Regions from separate parts of the Homo sapiens genome. Here region 1 is linked to region 2. Evidence: promoter capture Hi-C in 16 types of primary human blood cells and fetal thymus (Javierre and others, 2016). All regions are on one chromosome and are shown on one strand. The core of a region is centred on a gene start or on the middle of the fragment in contact, and the rest is flanking DNA. Distances in the headings are between cores, read along the strand shown.

What was found. The method cuts DNA at HindIII sites, captures the fragments that hold promoters and counts their contacts. A CHiCAGO score of 5 or more calls a contact.
Region 1: a contact is called between a fragment that was not itself captured here and the fragment with the promoter of QNG1 in region 2, in 2 of 17 cell types (neutrophils and endothelial precursors). The highest score is 5.2, in neutrophils.

What each region holds. Positions count from the first base shown.
Region 1 is chr9:84,224,798-84,228,446 of GRCh38, forward strand. No RefSeq gene overlaps it. Among named protein-coding and RNA genes, the nearest start is that of SLC28A3-AS1, 52 kb to the right of the region's middle. The HindIII fragment of the contact is 4,396 bases long and covers 1-3,649 here.
Region 2 is chr9:83,954,705-83,958,499 of GRCh38, forward strand. It overlaps QNG1 (Q-nucleotide N-glycosylase 1), which reads right to left and starts at 2,038. Exons shown (of 4, transcript NM_032307.5): 1 at 1,460-2,038; 2 at 677-936. The coding sequence starts at 1,796. The HindIII fragment of the contact is 8,080 bases long and covers 1-3,795 here.

The sequences.
Region 1 (3,649 bases), core at 801-3,300, 270 kb after region 2:
TTCAGGCCTCAGTTTCCCCTTAGCTGAGGTCCATTTGCCTGCAGATCTGTTTGGTGAGGGTCTGGGTTTCTGAAAAACAACTTGGAGACATGGGTTAAAATGTTATCTTTAGTTTCTTAGGGGAACCAAATATCCCATACTTCTAGCTTCCCTGGCTCTTGTTTTAGAGTACCCTGTTCCTTATCAAGTCGCTTATTTACTTCTCAGGGCTAGCGATGTGCTTGGATCTTTTCTAGAAGGAATTCAAGATATTCCTTTATTTCCATGCTTGGGTGGGGGGATCTCAGGCCCCTAAGAGGGAAGCCCTGCTCCATCTCAATTTCTTGGAGAATCCTACCTAGGACAGGCTTTCTTCTTATTACTCTGCTAGAAAGCAGAGGCATGTGCCTCTGTTCTGGAGATGTGAGTGGCACAAGATGAAGTCTGAAGGGCAGAAAAACATTCTAGGTGTAAAAGGAATACATTCGAGGTAAGTTCCTTCCAGGAACTCTGAGAGTGAGTTGACGGAGTGGGCTAAGGTGGTTGCAGTGGTCAGTAGGAAGTGGTCAGTTGTGGTCAGATCTGGAATATGCCTGGAAGGTATAGAGAGGGAGGATTTACTGATGAGTTGAATGTGGGGTGTGTGAGAGAGAAGTCAAGGATGACTGCAGGGCTTTTAGTCTGTGCCTGAGGATCAGCAACAGAGTCATTATTACTCAGCTTAGAATATAGAGTATGGAGCCAGGCGCGGTGGCTCACACCTGTAATCTCAGCACTTTGGGAGGCCGAGGCGGGTGGATCACCAGGTCAGGAGATCAAGACCATCCTGGCCAACATGGTGAAGCCCCGTCTCCACTAAAAATACAAAAATTAGCTGGGCGTGGTGGCATGTGCTTGTAATATCAGCTACTTGGGAGGCTAAGTCAGGAGAATCACATGAACCCGGGAGGCAGAGGTTGCAGTGAGTCGAGATCATACCACTGCACTCCAGCATGGTGACAGAGTAAGACTCCATCTCAAAAAAAAAAAAAAAAAAAAAAAAAGGAAAAAAAGAAATATAGAGTATGGATTTAAGAGAGGTAACAGATATCCTGGTAGAGATGTTATGTAGGCAGCTGGATGTCAGAATCTGGAGTTCGGGGAAAAGGTTAGGGCTGGAAATACAAATTTGAGAGTCACCAGGATATAAATCGTTTATAAAGTCTAGGAACTGGATGATATCCCCTGGGCTTGGGTGCAGAAAGAGTACTGAGTCCCAAGGCCCTCCACCATTTAGAGATCTGGAAAAGGAGGCCAGTGCAAGAGAGCAGTCCCCTATATTTTCTGAGATAGAAATACAGAAGAAGCCCCTTTTTTACTGCTGCTATTTGTAATCAGCTGTAGAGCCTATTGAATAGATTAAACCAACTTAAGCATTTTAGAGTGTGAGAATTTGAAGAGGCCCTCATCATCACATGGTCCAGTGTTTTGCATACTGTGGGTCATACAAGGTCAGGAAACCAGTTTATTGAATCCTGACTGGCATTTTTAAACAAGTGAACTAAAATAGAATAGAAGACTTCAGAGTGTTACATGTAGTAGAGATAAGCATTGTTTTTGGAGCTACTCTTTCAGTGTGTGAGTGCGTGTGTGTGTGTGTGTGTGTCTGTGTATTGGTCACTATGCAATTTTTCTCCTTTTCCTTTGGCCCTCAGGTGCACAGAATTGAACCAATTATAATCCTTGGTTTGGGACACCACAGTATTGTCATGGTGCATAAGTGACCACTGTCTTTTACCTATCATGTAATATTTTAATTTAGAAAATAACATAAAAGTCACTCACAACTAAGAGCTAGAACATTTCCAGTAATTTACATTTAACAACCCTCTGCACCCCCCAACCCTACATAACCATGTCCTTAATTTTGTGTTTATCTTTCCCTTTCTCTTTTTTTATCCTTTTTATCTTTCTATGTGTAAACAATATGTTGTTTAAATCTGCTTTTTAAAAACTTTTCTATTTTTTTTTTTTTTTTGAGAAAGGGTCTCGCTTTGTTGCCCAGGCTGGAGTGCAGTGGTGTGATCTTGGCTCACTGCAACCTCTGCCTCCTGGGATCAAGCAATTCTCCTACCTCAGGCTCCCGAGTAGCTGGGTCTACAGGCGTGTACCACAACACCTGGTTATTTTTTGTATTTTTAGAAGATATGGGGTTTCACCACGTTGGCCAGGCTGGTTAAAAACTTTTTATGATGGAACATTTAAAATATATAAAAAAGCAGAGAGAGCAGTATAAAAAACCCCTCACGTGTCTATCAGTTTCCATAATGACCAATTCATGACCAGTCTTGCTTCATTTGTACCCCTGTTACTCCAATTGGAAGCAAATCGTCCAGATAACATATCATTTTAGCCATAAATATTTCAGCATAAGGCTTAATCATTAATACAAAATCATTATTATATCTAAAAAAATGTAACATTTAAAAATATCATTAAGGCTAGGCACAGTGGCTCATGCCTGTAACCCCAGCACTTTGGGAGGGCGAGGCAGGTGGATCACCTGAGGTTAAGAGTTCGAGACCAGCCTGACCAATATAGTGAAACCCCATCTCTACTAAAATAAATACAAAAATTACCCAGGCGTGGTGGTATGCACCTGTAGTCCCAGCTACTCGGGAGGCTGAGATAGGAGAATTGCTTGAACCTGGGAGGCGGAGGTTGCAGTGAGCCAAGATCATGCCACTGCACTCCAGCCTGGGTGACAAAGCAAGACTCTGTCTCAAAACAAATAAAAATATCGTTAAATATCCCATCATTTTCAGAGTACCAATTGTCTTAAGAATTCTCTCATTTATGAAAAAAAATCAAAAACTTGAACTCTGACCTGATAATTAAAAATGTTATGAAATAATTGTTTTTTTTTGGTTAGTATGGTTATATAGTTTATGTTTATTAATATTTTGGTTATTTTTGTTGTTGTTGTTTATTTTATTTTATTTTTTTTGAGGCAGAGTCTTGCTCTGTCACCCAGGCTGGAGTGCAATGGTGCGATCTCAGCTCACTGCAACCTCTGCCTCCCGGGTTCAAGCGATTCTCCTGCCTTGGCCTCCTGAGTACAGGCGTGTGCCACCACGCCTGGCTAATTTTTGTATTTTTAGTGGAGACGGGGTTTCACCATGTTGACCAGGCTGGTCTTGAACTCCTGATCTCAGGTGATCCACCCACCCCCGCCTCCCAAAGTGCTGGGATTTACAGGCGTGAGCCACCGGGCTTGGCCTATTTTTGGTTATTTTTTACAAGATTCTTTATTTTTGAGGTATATATATATATATCTCTCTCTGAGAATTTTGAATATATATATTCAGTATATATATATATTTACTGAAATATGAATGAGATGATAGAATGTCTGGGATGTGGTTTGAAATAATACAGGAGTGGTGATGAGTGGGTGGGGTTTAGATGAAATGATATTGCAATGAATTGATTGTTATTGAAACAGAGTGACAGGAAAGTGGGGATTTATTAAACTGCTCTGTTAACATTTATACATGTTTAGATTTTTCCATAGTAACAACAACAAAAAATCCAATAAAAAGGCCCCAAAGTGAATAAACACTCTAATGCACAAGTCCTTAAGCACATGTTTCTTTAGGGTATAAACTTGGAAGTGCGCCTTCAGTCTGCT
Region 2 (3,795 bases), core at 788-3,287:
CCCCGTCTCTACTAAAAATACAAAAATTAGCCTAGCGCAGTGGCGGGCACCTGTAATCCCAGCTAGTCGGGAGACTGAGGCAGGTGAATCACCTGAACCCGGGAGGCGGAGTTTGCAGTGAGCCAAGATCGCGCCACTGCACTCTAGCCTGGGTGACAGAGTAAGAGTCCATCTCAAAAAAAAAAAAAAAAAAAAAAAAAGGAAAGAAATGACGCCAGCGTGGTGGTTCACGCCTGTAATCACAACACTTTGGGAGGCTGAGGCGACCAGATTACCTGAGGTCGGGAGTTTGAGACCAGCCTGGCCAACATAGTGAAACCCCGTCTCTACTAAAAATACATAAAATTAGCCGGGCTTGGTGGCGCATCCCTGTAATCCAAGCTACTCGGGAGGCTGAGGCAGGAGAATCGCTTGAACCCGGGAGGCAGAGGTTGCGGTGAGCCAAGATCACGCCACTGCACTCCAGCCTGCGCAACAAGAGCAAAACTCTGTCTCAAACAAACAAACAAAAGAAAACATAAGAAATGACTTTGAAACACTACTTGATTTTGTTAGTTTCTTCCACAAGGAATACATTTAAAAATTTAAGTTTTTATTCTTAAAATGAGTTCTGGAAGTAAAAGAGTTAACTCTGAGATGATTAAGACTTCTAAAATCCCCAACAGAAGCAACTCACCTCAAACAGAGTCACATCTCTGTAAGAAGGAAAACTTTCAACCACCAGGTGCATTAACTTCTGCGCACTATTCTCACTTTCTCGGACGCAGTTGAGAAAAGAGCCTCCAAACTTCTCCAGCAGAATTTTCCCGGTTTCATTGAGAATCCGATGCCTCTCTTCTACTAAAGGCATGGAAACGTCTGTGTCAGAACGAAGTATATTCCGAACCTGATCCAGGGTCACTGTCGCGTAGTACGAGGCACTAGTTATTGGTATCCCTTTAGTGAAAAAATAAAATTCAGAGGACCAATGTCATACTTCCATATGCATTAAACCCTTGCTTTTACAACATGGAATTAATATGAAACCAAATGAGTGGTATAGGAATGCACCAAAAGTGGAAGAATAAAAAATCTAAAGCAAAACTCATTTTCTACTTGTTCATCTGTACTTATTCACCCATTTCTAACTATTGCAATATTACATCAGATGTATTCTGAGTAAATTGCTTTATAACATCGGTCCTTTTGTTCTTCAGGTGTCATTCAAATGGCATTCTTTATAAAACTGACTTTTATGCTACTGTAACTTTTATGCTGCAATGATAAATATTAACATCATTTTCCACTAAAATATGCCCCTTTTCATACTTCTATTTTAAGCATAAGGACTTGCAACGAACTTCAGGTTCGCTTTCCATTATTCCATCTCCCAACCCGCTCCTTGGAACTCCCCTACACACACCCCAAGTAAATGGAAACCTCAAAGGCCGTTAGGTCCGATGGCAAGTATGGCACCAACCTTCGTCGAGGGCTCTGTTGACGGCGGCGCACAGGGACCAGTACCCACTGTATGTTTTCCCTCTGTACCTCACCACACACTTGTGCTCGTCCTGCTCCGACCAAAAGGAGAAGTTGAGCGTGTCTGTCACGAACACCCAGTTGACCGCGGCCTCGTCGGCCGCCCTGGGGTTCAGCTCATGAAGGGCTTTCCACCCCTCCACGCGCAGCTCTGGCCCCGCCGCCTTGGCCAGCAGCAGCTCTGCCACCCTCCGTACGCCTCCGCTGTCAATAAACACATCCCGACTGTTTTCTGCAATGAATTTAGAGGATTCCCTGGGATTTAGGAGCCCGTCCATTCTGCCCTTTGGGACCCGGCGGGCCAAACTCTTCCCGCCCTAGGCGGGTCAAGGTCCACTCTGCGCCTTGCGCTACTACGAACCGCGCGATCACAGGGCCTAAACAAGGTCCCGCCCTGCCAGGGAGTGGCACCGAGAACTTAGTGCAGCCAAGGTAAAGGTTCTCTCCCGCGGCGTTGCCCTGATTAGGAAACCAGAGAGACCCCGGGGCAGCTCGCTGGGCAGAGGCCGCAAGCACTTCCGGGAAAGCGGTCCCGTTCACGCCCTCTCGGGCGCGCTCTCAGGCTCCGCTTCCGGTTCCAAAGGTCTGGAAACTGCTAAGGGTCCGGCGTTCACCGGCCGTGAGTTGCCCACCCTGGGAGGTGCATGGCTTTGCCATGTTTTGCCTTTTCTCACCCCGCTTCGGACAGGTGGGACTCGAAGACGGCGACTCGCCGCCTTGCCCTGGGTCGCGATGCCCCCACCCCGCTCCCACCCCTCTCCTTTCCCGCAGCCTGAGCAAGACGCCTTCGGCAACGCCCCGCATCCGGGCTCCTTGGCCTCGAAGAGCATTATGGCCGTAGATCTGGGTGCTGAGGACTGAGCCACCCCCAGACTGCGACATGGGCGGCGGTGCCTCCTTCCCCAAGCCCCAGGGAGTGTTTTTTTGTTTGTTTTGTTTTTTGTTTTTGTTTAAGTGAATTCCTGGCCCATTTGGCCGAACGAACGTTAGGATTAGTTGGAAGGTTTGGAGAAATGGATGAGGAAACAAATGTGTTAAATTGTTAAATTAACCTTGTGTGCCTGGCAGTGTACTTAAGTACTAAATCTCACCTAGGCTGGGTCATGACGAAAGCGGCTATTGTGATCCCGCTTTTGCAAGTGAAGCTGAGTGGTTCATTGATTAACCCCCATCACAGCAATGGTTTGGGCTAGGATTTAAACCTTTGATAATTGAGCCCCCTAAATCGAGGGCACTTTATGAGCCAATCACCAGTGCCAACCATTCTGGTCAGTCAAATAGTGACTATATCAGTGGCCCTACTGAGAAGACATTAAAAATGAGGAAATAAGTGTCTCACAACTGCAAACTTACACAAGTACCTTATATTAGGAGAGAGGTGTAGAAGCCAATTTAGTGATGATCCAAATTTGACTGGTGATGAAGTTTTAGTATAAAGGTATGCATTTTTTTTCCTTTTGGAGACTTAAATCTCCATGGATAACGTTCACATCTTTGAAAATCACCTATTAAAAATAATCATCAGTACCCATCTCTAGTTACCGACAGGAAAATCTTGGTATTTTTGGAGGATTCGGAGCTTTTAAATTTGTTTGTTTGAGACAGAATCTCACCCTGTCGCCCAGGCTGGAGTGCAGTGGCATGATCTCAGCTCACTGCAACCTCCACCTCCCCGGTTCAAGTGATTCTCCCTGCCTCAGCTTCCCAAGTAGCTGGGATTATAGGTGTCAGCCACCACACCTGACTAATTTTTGTATTTTTAGTAGAGATGGGGTTTCCCTATGTGGGCCAGGCTGGTCTCAAACTCCTGACCTCAGGTAATCCACCCTCCTCGGCCTCCCAAATGGAGCTTTTTTTTTGAGACGGAGTCTCACTCTGTCATCCAGGCTGGAATGCAGTGGCACAGTCTCGGCTCACTGCAACCTCCGCCTCCTGGGTTCAAGCAATTCTCCTGGCTTAGCCTCCCGAGTAGCTGGGATTATAGGTGCCCGCCACCACGCCCGGCTAAGTTTTGTATTTTTAGTAGGGACAGGTTTTCACCATGTTGGCCAGGCTGATCTCGAACTCCTGACCTCAGGTGATCCGCCTGTCTTGGCCTCCCAAAATGCTGGGATTACAGGCATGAGCCACCACACCTGGCCCCAAATGGAGCTTTTAAATTTGACAGCTGTTACCCTAGAAAAGCAGATCTTCATCACTCCAGTTTCTTCATTTTGGTAAGAAAAAGGAACTTTAAGGACTCCACTATGATACGTTTTCCAGAAAAAGTCACTAGTA